Regions from separate parts of the Homo sapiens genome. Here all the other regions are linked to region 1. The links are contacts of gene promoters, found by promoter capture Hi-C in blood cells and fetal thymus (Javierre and others, 2016). All regions are on one chromosome and are shown on one strand. Each heading gives the region's core, a stretch centred on a gene start or on the middle of the fragment in contact. The rest is flanking DNA. Distances are from core to core; before and after follow the strand shown.

Region 1 (2,700 bases), core at 186-2,685:
TTAGCTTGAGACTAGGAGTTCAAGACAAGCCTGGACAACACAGTGAGACCCTGTCTACACACACAGACACACACACACACACACACACACACACACACACACACAATTAGCAAGGCGTGGTGGTGTGTGCCTACAGTCCCAGCTGCTAGGAGGCCGAGGCAGGAGGACTGCCTGAGCCCAGGAGTTAGAGACTGCAGTGAGCTACAGTCATGCCACTGCACTCTAGCCTGCACAACACAGCCAGACTCTGCCTCTAAAAAAAAAAATTTAAAAATTAAAATTTTTAGAAAAGGACTAGGACTTTATTATTGTGTGACTAAATGCAAATACAAGTTTGTATTTACTCACTTTGTGCTTTTCCAGTCTCCCCTAGGAATAAAGAAGGAAACTCACTTATTGAGCACCTATTGTATACCAGGCACTGTGCAAGATGCAGTCGCATGCATTAGCGCATATGACCTTCACAGACACACTGGGAGGCTGGCACAGTCTCTGTTTTAGCAGATGAATTCGCTGACACCAGTTACCTATCAGGAGCCGCACATTTAAGCAGAAGGGCAAGGACTAGATCCCAGATCTGCCTGACTTTAGAGCTCTTTCTTTCCCTAAAGTCCTCTGGAGTGAAGGCTGAGTCTTCTCTGCCCTCAGGAATCTCAAAGTGCCAACCTCCTGGGCAGAGAGTCCACTGACAATGACATATGCCCAGTACCTAGCCCAACTGGTCAGACTCACTGAGTGTTTGCAGAAGGAGAGAAGGAAGAATGGCGAGCTTAGACAGAAAGCAGCAAGTCCAGGCCAGTGGGAAGTGCAGCCTCCTCAGTGAGGGTACGGAACATGGGGAGGGGGCTAGGCAGGAGAGATGCCAAACTGTTGCTAGATAAACCCACACACTGCCTCCGTCGCTGCCCATTCCAGAACTCCAGGCCGCAGGAACCGGAACCGCCAGGTCGCAAGGCTCTCCCCCAGGGTCCGGAGGCCTGCCCTCTCCCCCAGCTGCGGGGAGACTCACCATGTTCTTAGTGAGCTGGTCGCTCTTCTCCAGGCTGTCTCGGATGAAGGACAGAGTCTCCTCCTCCTGGGGGCAGGCAAGGGGAGGACATCACCAGAAACCAGAAGCTAAAGGAGACCACTGCGTCCCAACCCCACGGCCTAGCCCCCAACCCCATCTCCTCGCTGGGTGCGCTCCCTCCCACCCCTGCCTCCTCCATGAGTAGACAATCAGGCCCCGCTGTTGGCCCCTTTCCCTCACCTCCTCCCCAGCCTCCCCAGGCCCACGCCCACCTGCTTCAGCTTGTCCTCAATCTCCCGCCGTCGAGCGGATGCCTCCTGTGGGGGAATCATCGCTCTGAACCCCGCGGCTCCCACTCCCCAGTATCTTTCCTCCGCGGGCCCACCGGGCCCCCGTCCCCGTCACACCCACTTCCGCTCTTGGTCCCGCCCCGGGACGCCTGGGCGGAGCCATGTTGGGAATCGCAGGCTGAAGTGCGCCTGCGCGGAGCCCAAGAACGGACCGACGGCCATTTTGAGCGTGGCTGGGAAGAGAAGTGTATTCGGATGCTGCAAGGGACCTCGACGCGGGTTCCTTGCCTCAGCAGAGGTTTTCGATCGGCCTTATGTCCCGCGGCTGGCAGGACACTTAGAGCTCACTTGCTGTTTTCGTTGAAAGACCGACCCTTTTGATAAAGACTGCTGGGGAAGGCGACGAATTCCTTTCCCCAGGTCGCATTCTATGGGCAGGCACCAAGGCCAATTGCGTTTCCCACAAAGCCCCGCACGGAGCAGGTGACACAGTAGATGCCTAACGTGTGTCCATGTAATGAACCAGGGGCTTGTGTACTTGTTTCCGCCTTCCACCCTGCATTACGCAAAAACGTATCCTGTGGGCTGGCGGGGCTGCTCCGGAGCTCCAGGCCCAGACCCAGCGTCCAACTGCAGCTCCAGGGGACGGGGTGGGGGGCGCCCCTGGATCAACTTCCCTGCGGGGCTGGATGTTGTGGTTGCAGACCCAGCTCCTGCAAAACCTCGAGTTACTCCTTCCTCTAACCCGTCCCTGCCCACCCTGCCTCTGGCCCCCAGCCTTGAGAAAGGACAAGGCCGACCAGCTTGGTTCAGTCCTTCTGTGGCCTCAGTGTCCAGACACCCGGAAGATAGACAAGGAGGCATGTGCTGGTAGATGAGAAGGTTTGGGGCGGGCAGGGGGGACACCAAGCTTTTTTTTTCCTTTCTTTTCTTTTGAGAGAGAGTCTCACTCTGTCGCCCAGGCTGGAGTGCAAGTGGCACGATCTTGGCTCATTGCAGTCTCTGCCTCCCGGGTTCAAGTGATTCTCGTGCCTCAGCGTCCCGAGTAGCTGGGATTACAGGCGGCTGCCAACACGCCCGGCTAATTTTTTTGTATTATTAGTAGAGACAGGGTTTCGCCATGTTGCCCAGGCTAGTCTCGAACTCCTGACCTCAAGTGATCCACCCGCCTTGGCCTTCCAAAGTCCTGAGATTACAGGCGTGAGCCCCTGCTCCCGGCCTAAGGAGAGAAGGAGAGAAGGAAGAACCCAAGCTCTAGGGTTCCCAAGCGCTCACTCCACCCATAGTCACCCGAAGAGGAGGAGGAGGAGGAAGTGGGTGCACAGAGCCTGGAGAGGGATGGGCAGCCTTCCCTCAGGCAAGAGGACAATTTCAATCCTGTTGTAGGTGGGGGAGATAAAA
Region 2 (2,718 bases), core at 139-2,638, 170 kb before region 1:
CTCCAGGAGCTGCCCATGTTGGACCCAGAGGGCCTGGAACAGCTCGAGGAAGGGAGGAAACTCAAGCTGTCCCCTTACCCCACCACACACACTCAAACACACACACGCACAAATGCTCCTTGGCCTCTCCATCCTGTGCAGAGAAAACCCAAGGACATGAACGCTTCCTACTAGCATCTTCCACGTCCTCAAAGTCTCCCTAGCAGATGCGAGGAGCCGTCTCCCATGCACCTTTCTCACTGGCTACTGACCCACCTGCAGGCTTGGGGTGGTTGGGCAGCTCTCCTTTCCCAGGGTCCTTTGCAGCTTTTTTGCTAGGGGCTGAATTAGATTTCTTCAGACCTAAGATATCAGCATCCATGCCGTCCAGGTCCTAGAAAACCAGGGAGGGAGGGCAGAGGACTATGTCTGATAAGGGGCTGAGGACTTCCACCTGAGAGAGATGGGCTGTTGGCACCCCAGGTGTAGAATTGTGAGAAAACAAAGGAAAATGAGAAAACTGTTGAGAAAAACAGTGAGTGAAGAAAGAAAATGGAACTAAAGGTAAGCAGGGGGAGGTGGAATGGAGTCCAGCTCATGGTTCTGGGATGAGAGACTCAAAGTCAGCACCAAAAATTGAGTCAGAGGACTTGTGGGTTATGCCCAGGGATCCTAGGTGGCTGGTCTCGGGAAAAAAGCTTTCTTTTTTTTCTTTTTTTAGACAGGATATTGGCCGGGCGCGGTGGCTCATGCCTAGAATCCCAGCACTTTGGGCCGAGGCAGGTGGATCACCAGGTCAAGAAATCGAGACCATCCTGGCCAACATGATGAAACCCTGTCTCTACAAAAAATACAAAAATTAGTTGGGTGTGGTGGTGCACGCCTGTAATCCCAGCTACTTGGGAGGCTGAGGTAGGAGAATCGCTTGAACCTGGGAGGTGGAGGTTGCAGTGAGCCGAGATCATGCCACTGCACTCCAGCCTAGGCAACAGAGCAAGACTCCGTCTCAAAAAAATAAAAATAAATTAAAAATAAAATAAAATAAAGACAGAGTCTCACTCTGTCACCCAGGCTGGAGTGAAGTGGTGCGATCATAGCTCATTGCAGCCTCCAACTTCTGAGCTCAAGTGATCCACCTGCCATGGCCTCCCAAAGTGCTGGCATTACAGGAGTAAGCCACCATGCCAGACTTTTTTTTTTTTTTTGAAGACAGAGTCTCACTCTGTCACCACCCAGGCTGTAGTGCAGTGGTGTGATCATAGCTCATTGCAGCCTCCAACTCCTAGGCTCAAGCGAGCCTACTGCCTCGGCCTCCCAAAGTTCTGGGATTACAGGTGCCTGGCCTTTGAGGAGAAAGATTTCAAGATGAGATTAAAGAAGCTGAATCTGGACCGGGTGTGGTGCCTCATGCCTGTAATTACAGTATTTTGGGAGGCCAAGGTAAGAGAATCGCTTAAGGCCAGGAGTTTAAGGTTGCAATGAGATCACACCACTGCACTCCAGCCTGGGTGATAGAATGCGATGGTGTCTCTAAAAAAAAACCCAAAAAACAAAAATACACAACAAAAACAAGAGCCCCACAGGGCTGTAACCAAAAACGCGGCTTTGTCCTAGGGACTGTGGCAAAATGGGTTAACTAAAAGGGACACAAAACCCCAAGGGTCAGACAGGAAGGTGCTGCTGGCTGGAAGGAGAGGGAGAACAAGGTGTCTTAGGCCAAGCTAGAGATTATGTCCTTACAAATTATTCAGAATCTGTGCCTTAAAAATCCATTGCAAAGATTGGCGCTGGGCTTGATCTGATGAGAAGACAGCAGTATTGAAGGGGGCTTGGCAGGGGATGTGGAGAGAAATATGGAGAAAGATTAAGAACAAGCATTAGAGGAAAGAGTCTCCCCCTCTGTCTTCTAGGTGGAGGTGAGGGGACCCAGCTAGGTGGGCCTCCGAGTAGAGCTGGCCCCGTTTCCCCAGAGGCCTGTGGCACTCTCCACTCTCTATATACCAGGAACACTGGTTGATACTCAGAAAGGCAAGGAGGCCAACGGCTCACAGACGAGTTCCATGCTTGCACGAGGAAGGGCTCAGAAACACAGGTTGTAAAGGGAGAAATTAGAAGGAGAATGAAGCTTTGGTACAAAATATCATGACCCCACCCCACCCACCCCCAGTTCTAAGAATCGTGCAAGCTGTTTCCTTACCTTCATGGCCTGGAGCAGAGCCTGTGGGTCTGCCTCTGAGATACCTGAAACCTAAGTCCACAATGAGGGTGAGGACACAGATGAGGAGGCACATTAGTCAAGGCCCAATAAAACTCAGGGTCCTGGCCCCTTGCTTCTGTTAGGGCAGACGGCGCGGCAGGAGCAGAGCTTGGCCAATGGAGCTTACACAGGAGGGTGGCTTTGTTCCCCTTGCTTGGGCTTGGCAGTTGTTTGAAGCCAAACCTGCCTGGTTTTAGAGACTCAGAGAGCACTGCCATTCCTACTCCTTCCAACCATAGAGAACTCTTCCATCCAGGACTGAAATTCTGCTACTTCCCACCCATGCCAATGGACAGCTATGGAGTTTATAAGGGGAAAGGAGCAACATCTAAGACTCTAGCAGTTTCAGGGAGCTCTCCTTTCCACTCATCTTACTACAGGAAAGAGGATTCTGCTTTGGGTCCACTCGGCAGCCCTTGGGCATTATTTACAGTGGCTCACGCCTGTAATCCCAGCACTTTGGGAGGCCGAGGCGGGTAGAT
Region 3 (2,700 bases), core at 39-2,538, 150 kb after region 1:
TGCCTGTGGAGGCAATGAGGAGCTGACATTCACCTGACCCCCGTCCTCTACTTTCGGGTATGCAGAGGCTCTCTTTTGCTGCCCGCGTCAAGTTAGAAGAGGCCACATGATTCTTCGGGACAGTGAACCATGAACAAAGGTGTACTGCAGTCATGTGTTGCTTAAAGACCCGTATACGCTCCGAGAAATGCGTCATTAGGCGATTCTGTCGTCGTGTGAACATTCTAGAGTGTACTCACACACACCTAAATGGGCTAGCCTACCACACACCTAGGCCATGTGGCATAGCCATTGCTCCCAGGCTACAAACCTATCCAGCATGTTACTATACTAAATACTGTAGGGAATTGTAGCACAGTGGTGAAGTATTTGTCCATCTAAACATAGAAAAGCACTTTGGGAGGCCAAGGCGGGCAGATGACTTGAGGTCAGGAATTTGAGACCAGCCTGGCTAACATGGTGAAACCCTATCTCTACTAAAAATACAAAAATTAGCCAGGCATGGTGGCAGGTGCCTGTAATCCCAGCTACTCAAGAGGCTGAGGCAGGAGAATCGCTTGAACCCGGGAGGCGGAGGTTGCAGTGAGCCGAGATCAGGCCATTGCACTCTAGCCTGAGGGACAGAATAAGACTCCGTCTCAAAAAAAATAAAAAATAAATAAATAAACATAGAAAAGATACAGTAGAAATACAGCATTCTAATTGAGTGGGCCCACCTTCACAGACGCAACCCATCATTGACAGAAAGGTCGTTATGCAGCGTGTGCTGTGCTCCCAGGCTAAGCGTTTCATTGCCGATGCTCAGCTCTTCAGTCCTCTCATTGTCTGCTGGCATGTTCCATATGGTGCAAAGTGCCAGAGAGGACATCGTTATGGCTTATGGCTTGTATATTGCAGCTACTCAAATAAAAAAAATTATTAATTTGGGAGATAAACTGGGAGATCAAGGTTCCAAAGGAGGAGAGGTTCGCCCCAGGGTCACATACAAGGGGAGCAGTGGAGAAACTGCATGGGCTGTGAAGGGGGCTGTATTGAGGATTTCACCAGTGGCTGGGAAACGGTGAGCTAGGAGACGTCGACGTCTTCAGAGGAGGATCAGGACTTGGGGGAATTTGTGGGTTCCCTGGCAGCCTCACAGTGGTTGTCAGACCCTTCCCTCTTTGGAATGTGCCATCACAAGGCATTACATGCAATAGGTGTAATGACGGTGCACTAGCAGGCACACAGTAGGGAGACTGACCTAATGCACAGTAGGTAGACATTAGTGCATTAACACACACACATAGTAGGACTGACTGTCAGCATACTAGCAGGCACACACAATAGCTGGCAGGCCTTGACCACGGACAGAGTATTTTTCTCTACACTGTGGAAGAATATCTGAGGTCCTCTTGAGAAGCGTGAACTACATTCAGCTAATTTTTTATATTTCGTAGAAATGGGTTCTTGCTTTTTTGCCCAGGCTGGTCTTGAACTCCTGGGCTCAAGCGATCCACCCGCCCACTCGCCTCAGCCTCCCACAGTGCTGGGACTATGGGTGTGAGCCACCGTGCCCAGCTCTGCATTTTATTTTTTGAGAAAAAACAATCATACACCCAAAGTGTGTTTATAATTTACATGCACAATTAAAAAAAAAAAGACAGAGGCCAGGTACGGTGGCTCACACCTGTAATCTCAGCACTTTGGCAGGCTGAGGCAGGTGGACCACCTGAGGTCTGGAGTTCGAGACCAGCCTGATCAACATGGTGAAACACTGTCCCTACTAAAAATACAAAAATTAGTTGGGCACAGTGGCTAATGCCTGTAATCCCAGCTACTTGGGAGGCAGAGGCAGGAGAATCACGTGAACCCGGGAGGTGGAGATTGTAGTGAGCCGAGATTGCACCATTGCACTCCAGCATGGGCAACAACAGCTAAACTCCGTCTCAGAAAAAAACAAAACAAAACAGGATCTCGCTCTGTCACCCAAGTTGGAGTGCTGTGGAGATCTCGGCTCACTGCAGCCTCGTGCCTCTCAGGTTCAAGCAATTCTCATGCCTCAGCCTCCCGAGTAGCTGGAATTACAGGCGCATGCCACCACACCTAATTTTTGTATTTTTAGTAGAGACGGGGTTTTGCCATGTTGGCTAAGCTGGAATATACACAATTTAAAGAATAATAAACAATCACCTGTGTCCCCGACACAGAATTTAAGAAGTCCAAGACCTTTGAAGACTCTTGAATGACCTCTCCCAGATGCATATCCTCCTTTCTTCACCAGAGACTCAGTATCCTCCAATTTGCATTAATCGGTCCCTTGCTTTTCATTGTCATTTAATCCTATACATGTGTATCCCTGAGCAATGCATTGTGGGTTGGCACATTGATTCCACTGCATATGTGACCCAGTCCCTCTCCCTAACTTCTGGTGGGTGAGCTCAGTGGAGTTCTCTTACCAAGGTAGATTCCTCCAAGCAAGGGCTGGCCCTTTTTCCGTTTTCTGTGACCTCAGACAGCGACTCTGACCCAAACGAGCAACCACAGGTCATAAGGAGATAATCCAAGAAGGCTCCTTAGAGCAGGGAAAATTGAACCTGGGAAGGATTTGGATAAACAGGAAGGGGAAGAAAGGGAATTTTTGGAAGAGAGAACAGTGCAAACCAAAGCAAGTTCATAGCCACACACATTCAGGGCATCTGTTGGGAGCCTGTGGGGGTGCTA
Region 4 (2,700 bases), core at 139-2,638, 160 kb before region 1:
GGCCCCAGATTTAGATTTTAAATAAAACGTGAGGTACTGGGTCAAAGGGGGCTCTGCAGGTCGATGATCTCCTCAAACCTGCAAAGACATCCCATCTATGCAACTGGATTGGGGGGTGTCATTCCAAACACCCTCAGATCCTGCCCAGATATTCATCTGTGAACAAGGTATTTCAACACTAATTTTGAAACAATTCTACATCTAGCAGGTCAGTTTATCATTTTCCAGAATCTGAACTACTGTCAGGATAGACTCAAGTGAGATTAACACAGGGTTAATCTTCAATCTTAACACAATTATCAATTAGTTCTCCCAGTGGAACGATTAAGGCTTTTGTCAACATGTAGCATTTCTGCTGTAACCTATAAGTCTCATATTACCAGTTCCCCAGGATAGATAGATATTATGTCAGGTCCCAAGATAGGAGTTATGTTTCCATGGAATTAAGCCATATTCTCAGGACTGATTCTAGAACAGCTGGTTTCATGAGGCATATGGCGTAGATTAAAAAAAAACAAAACAAAGTGACTTACATTGACTTTAAGAAAAAATTAATTAAGATGTATTTAACCTTTAAGTATAGAATGATTGTATAAATTAGATTTCAACTGAAAGGACAATTAGCGATTCAGAGAAAGCTCCTAGAAATAGACTGAAAACAAAGCCATACATAGAGTAAGAAATAGAACCTATGGAACTTCCATTTTTCTAACTATAGTTTTTTGTTTTTGTTTTTTCCCAGTTGTTAAAAAAAAAACAACTCACAGTTTCAATATTTTCTGAACCAAAAATCAGAACACATGGTTTGTGTCAAAGGGTTTTTCTGTGCTACGTCTGGGAGTGCTGACCTAAGTGACATTTTTTTTTAATGCCAAATACAGTAATCTCCAAGCTTTTAATGGCTTATGCCAAGATGACAGAATATGTGAAATCTGATTGTCCCAGAGTTACACTCTGCACTCCAAAGCTACAACAGTGCCACAGCTGAGAGGTTTCCCTATACTTCCTACTACTGTGACAATTTAGCAATCCTTCAAATGGAAAATTCCTAATTACACGAGACAATGGTCCTACAGTAGGCCCGTGCGGAATAAGTTCCCTCGTTGGAAAAATGCTAGCATGAATAGTTTGATAAATGCAATCCATCAGCAAAGGAGAGCAAGCAGGCAGAGACTGTGCCAAGCAGAAACTCATTCGCATCAAGTTTTCCAATAAGTTTCCTTCCCCCAGTCCCTTTTCTTCAATCCTGCTTTTAAGCCAGGCCCCAGGGTAAGTCTGGTAGAACACTGAGCAGGAAAGCTTGGAAGGGTTCTACACCACTTCAAAAATACCTTTGCTTAAAAACACTTATATAGCCAGTGATTAGCAATTAAAATGTGAAAATAATCAACTACTCAGTAGTTAAATTCTGCTAATTATCAAAAGTCATAGTCTACTGGGATCAGCAGCATTACAAAAGGAAGTCATATCGCATTTCTTAAGCTTTTTCTGAATGGTTTAACAGGTCTCTTTCAGTGTTAATTGCACTTAAAACATCTGCTTTTTTTCATTTAATCTCTGAAATCTGTTCATTTTTTCCCTCCATTTATAAAAAGGGGTCAATTTATCATTTGCTCTATAGCTATTTGAATTCGAAAAAGATTCCACAAAATTTGAGTTGCACACAGGCGCTTTCTGAAGCAGATTAAACTTGTCCTTGTGACACTTCAGAGCTTGGACTGCAGTGACTTCAGGTGCTTGTAAGATTCGTGGACCTGTGGGGAAAGGAGAGAGAAGAACTACTAATAAAGAGTTTGCCATGTTAAATAGTATACTGTTTTTTGTTTTTGTTTTTGTTTTTTTTTTGAGACTGAGTCCTGCTCTGTTGCTCAGGCTGGAGTGCAGTGGCACAATCTTGGCTCACTACAGCCTCTGCCTCCCAGACTCCAGCGATCTTCCCACCTTAGCCTCCCGAGTTGCTAGAACTACAGGTGTGTGCCATGACACCTGGCTGCTATTTGTATTTTTTTGTAGAGATGGGGGTTTACCATGTTGGCCAGGCTGGTCTAGAACTCCTCAATTCAAGTGATCCACCCACCTCAGCCTCCCAAAGTGCTAGGATTACAGGCGTGAGCCACTGTGCCCAGCCTGTGGTTGTTTCTGAAGAGTCCTTATCTTTTAGAGCTATGCATTGAATTATTTATGGATAAAATTATCTGATGTCTTAGTTTTTTTTTTTTTTTTGAAACGGAGCCTCGCTCTTGTTGCCCAGGCTGGAGTGCAATGGCATGGTCTCGGCTCACCGCAACCTCCGCCTCCCAGGCTCAAGCAATTCTCCTGTCTCAGCCTCCCAAGTAGCTGGGATTACAGGCATGCGCCACCACGCCTGGCTAATTTTGTATTTTTAGTAGAAACAAGGTTTCTCCATGTTGGTCAGGCTGGTCTCAAACTCCCGACCTCAGGTGATCCACCTGCCTCGGCCTCCCAGGTGTGCATCACTGAGCCTGGCCCTGATGTCTTAGATTTATTTCAAAATAGTCCCCAGGAGGAGGGGGATGAAGGTTCAGATGAAACACAACTAGCCACGAGTTGATAGTCATTGCTGCTAGACAAAGGGTGTACCAAAGAGCACTACGGAATTCTCTTTTTGTATATTTTATTCTATTTGTGTGTGTGTGTGTGTGTGTATACTTTTTTTTTTTTTTTGAGACAGAGTTTTGC
Region 5 (2,818 bases), core at 163-2,662, 170 kb after region 1:
GAGCCTCCCCGCTGGCCGCTCTCCCTTGCCTAGCAGCCTGGGAGCATCTGAGGGTGGCTGGTGGGGCAGTCAGCTGGTCTCCCTGCCCAGGGAAGGTGCGGAACAGTGGTGTCCTGGGCTGCCCCCTTGCCCTTTCACTTTAATCTGACACCTTAGCTCCTGGGTGCAATTAACCATTTACTTTGAATGCTCCTCGGGGTGTCATTTCCAGGCCTCATGAAACCCCGTTGGTTTTGATAAGGTTCTTGGGTTTTGTCCTTGTTTTCTGTTTGTATTGCCTCGGGGAGAGGGCACTTTTGTCCTGTGGAAGCTGCTTGTGCGAAAATGAATGAAGCTGAAAAATGGGAGTAAAGGAGCGGCTGGCCTGGGTAAGCCCCATCCAGTGGCTCGGGGACCCCCGAGGCAGCCTCCCCACACCCGTGTTCTCTCCCGCAGATGTGCACTCCCAGCAACACCCCTGCCACGCCGCCCAACTTCCCCGATGCGCTGGCCATGTTCTCCAAGCTCCGCGCCTCCGAGGGCCTGCAGAGCAGCAACAGCCCCATGACAGCCGCAGCCTGCTCCCCACCTGCAAACTTCAGCCCCTTCTGGGCCTCGTCCCCGCCCAGCCACCAGGCGCCCTGGATCCCGCCCTCCTCCCCCACCACCTTCCACCACCTCCACCGCCCACAGCCCACGTGGCCCCCAGGAGCACAGCAGGGGGGCGCCCAGCAGAAAGCCATGGCGGCCATGGACGGCCAGAGATGAGACTGGACGCCGCCGGGCGCTGGGCTGGAGCTGGGGGCAGCCCAGGGTTGTGGGGACACAGGAGGGCCAGGGAGGGGGGAGCCGGGGAGGGCAGGGGGTTTCCCGAAGATCGCACTGGAAGATTTTATAAAAGAATTTTTGTGGGTCGGGGGGACAGTAAACTTCCTGGGCCACGTGGGTCCTTCAGGAGTTTTTCAGGCAAGTTTTTCCTCTGTTTTTAATATATAACTATAATATATATGAATAGATAAATATAACTAATGTGCGTGAGAATGGGCCTGGCACACCTGGGGTGCTCGGGGGTAGGGCTGCCATGCTGCAGAGCTGATGGAGTGATGTTGTGGGCACAAGGCATCTGTCAGCTGCCTCCTTTAACAGCCATGCCTTCTGGAATCTGGAAGAGGACACCACTCCTGCAGTCACTGGGCAGCCACATAGCAGCTGCAGGTCCCAGGAGGGCCTGAGGTCAAAGCTGTGGAAGGCCCTCTTGGTATCAGGGCTCTCTCCCCATGGCCTCTTCCCCACCTCTGATTGCTGGTTGTGGCCCCATAGCTCATCACCCCTGTCTCCTGCTGAATGTGCAGGGCTGATGTGGCACTGAGGAGCTGACTTTGGTCAAAGGCCAGGCTCTGCCCAGCAGGGGACTTGACTGCCCTGGGCGCCCTGCCCCTCCCGCTGCGTGTCCAGGTCCAAAGTGGAGAGCCTGCCTTTGGGTTTAGTTCCCGAATCAGAATCCCATCTCACCAGGGCGAAATTTTAATTTAAAAACTTAAAAAGAGACTTTTCTAACTTCCCTGGTTTGCGGTGCTTTTATTTCCGTTGGTGGGAAAAGCGGTCTCCTCAGAAGAGGGGTGGTGGGGGTCCCTTGCCACTGGGCTGGTCTGGATGTTTTTGCTGTGGGATGGTCACACCAGGGGCTCTGACAGCAAGGTCCAGGTTGGTGTGGGGAGGAGAGAGGGGCCGGGGTCCGTCCTGAGTTTCTGTGACCTTCCCTTCTTGGCCCCATCGGTGTAGCCCCCACCCACAGAGCCCTAGTGAGAAGAGCTGGAAGCCATTTTCATCTACAGTGGGGAGAGCTTCCTTCTAGCTGGGGGCCTCCTGATGGCCCCCCCAGGCCCTCCCAGGAAGCATCTTCCAGCTGGGCTCATCTCCGATACTCCTCTCCTCAGCTTCCCGGGGGCAGTATGTCCCTTTGGGTCATGGCCTGTGGAGTGGCCATGACCCAAAGTTCAATTAAGGCTGGCGGGTCCCCAGAGGGGCCTGCTTCCATTCCCCCTTCCCCGCAGCCCTGCAGGCGTCAGCATGGGGCGAGGTTACCAGTTCCTGACCCAGCAGCTCGTCCTCAGGTGGTCCTGCTGCTCGGGAGGTCAGCTGCGTGGGGAGCCTGTCCACCTGGCTGATGGGGGTGATGGCCGCGTGGCTGGGATTCCTCCTCCAGCCCTGCCCTTCACCGCCATACAGTCTGGGCAGCCCCTTCCTGTCCCGTCCTCCTGCCTCGCCCTCTGCTGGGGTCTACGGGGCCCAAGTCTTGCTGGAACACAGGCAGGACAAGGGTTCTGGAGGTTCAGGCCGGAAGTGAAATAAAAGTCGAGAGGGGCCGGGCCCGGCACCCACCGCATCCTGCCTCCGGGCCTCCTCGGGCCCCTCACACGGTGGGGCAGCCCCTCCTCCAGTGGAGCGGAACGGTGGGCCCCGCTGCCCCTCCACCCCTGCGTGTGACACGGACGTGCTTGGAAGCTGGGTTCGTCCTTTCAGTTTTGTTTCCTGGTTGGAAACCCCTGAGACTCCTCCCCCTCCCCCCGCCCCTGCCCACCTGTGCTTTCCCAGGCTGGAAGGGGCAGCCCCTCTCAGCACGTGGGTGGTTAGGCTGTGACGTCCCCAGGCCTCCTGGGCCTGCACCGGGGTCCACCCAGGTGTGGGCCATGCCCAGGTGCGGGAATGGTCGGGGGTTGCCCTGGCCGGCTTAGGGAATGTCGCTCTGGGACCTTCTGTGGGCGTGGGGAAGGCCTGGGTGAGGAGGGCTGGGCTGCACCTCCCTGCCAAGCTGGTGAATTTGGCTTCTAGACCCGGG

The links. The method cuts DNA at HindIII sites, captures the fragments that hold promoters and counts their contacts. A CHiCAGO score of 5 or more calls a contact.
Region 2: a contact is called between a fragment that was not itself captured here and the fragment with the promoter of EXOC7 in region 1, in 1 of 17 cell types (endothelial precursors). The highest score is 5.6, in endothelial precursors.
Region 3: a fragment that was not itself captured here is called in contact with the fragment with the promoter of EXOC7 in region 1 in 5 of 17 cell types (endothelial precursors, M1 macrophages, total CD8 T cells and 2 more); the score reaches 7.7 in endothelial precursors.
Region 4: a fragment that was not itself captured here is called in contact with the fragment with the promoter of EXOC7 in region 1 in 1 of 17 cell types (M1 macrophages); the score reaches 5.0 in M1 macrophages.
Region 5: a contact is called between a fragment that was not itself captured here and the fragment with the promoter of EXOC7 in region 1, in 14 of 17 cell types (M1 macrophages, endothelial precursors, megakaryocytes and 11 more). The highest score is 11.8, in M1 macrophages.

Annotation. Positions count from the first base shown.
Region 1 is chr17:76,102,352-76,105,051 of GRCh38, forward strand. EXOC7 (exocyst complex component 7) reads right to left here and starts at 1,436. Exons shown (of 19, transcript NM_001013839.4): 1 at 1,282-1,436; 2 at 1,010-1,075. The coding sequence starts at 1,341. The HindIII fragment of the contact is 3,319 bases long and covers 1-2,207 here.
Region 2 is chr17:75,927,821-75,930,538 of GRCh38, forward strand. FBF1 (Fas binding factor 1) reads right to left here. Exons shown (of 30, transcript NM_001319193.2): 7 at 2,177-2,227; 8 at 256-373. Among named protein-coding and RNA genes, the nearest start is that of FBF1, 12 kb to the right of the region's middle. The HindIII fragment of the contact is 1,427 bases long and covers 676-2,102 here.
Region 3 is chr17:76,253,196-76,255,895 of GRCh38, forward strand. LOC105371896 (a long non-coding RNA gene) reads right to left here. Exons shown (of 6, transcript XR_007065913.1): 4 at 2,436-2,573; 5 at 717-897. Among named protein-coding and RNA genes, the nearest start is that of UBALD2, 11 kb to the right of the region's middle. The HindIII fragment of the contact is 4,799 bases long and covers 1-2,700 here.
Region 4 is chr17:75,945,042-75,947,741 of GRCh38, forward strand. It overlaps ACOX1 (acyl-CoA oxidase 1), which reads right to left. Exons shown (of 14, transcript NM_004035.7): 14 at 1-1,754. The coding sequence ends at 1,707. Among named protein-coding and RNA genes, the nearest start is that of FBF1, 5.4 kb to the left of the region's middle. The HindIII fragment of the contact is 183 bases long and covers 1,298-1,480 here.
Region 5 is chr17:76,269,759-76,272,576 of GRCh38, forward strand. UBALD2 (UBA like domain containing 2) reads left to right here. Exons shown (of 3, transcript NM_182565.4): 3 at 436-1,540. The coding sequence ends at 747. Among named protein-coding and RNA genes, the nearest start is that of UBALD2, 5.8 kb to the left of the region's middle. RefSeq lists enhancers at 303-492, 1,373-1,592, 2,180-2,704, 2,533-2,582, 2,705-2,818 and a silencer at 2,283-2,382. The HindIII fragment of the contact is 5,749 bases long and covers 1-2,818 here.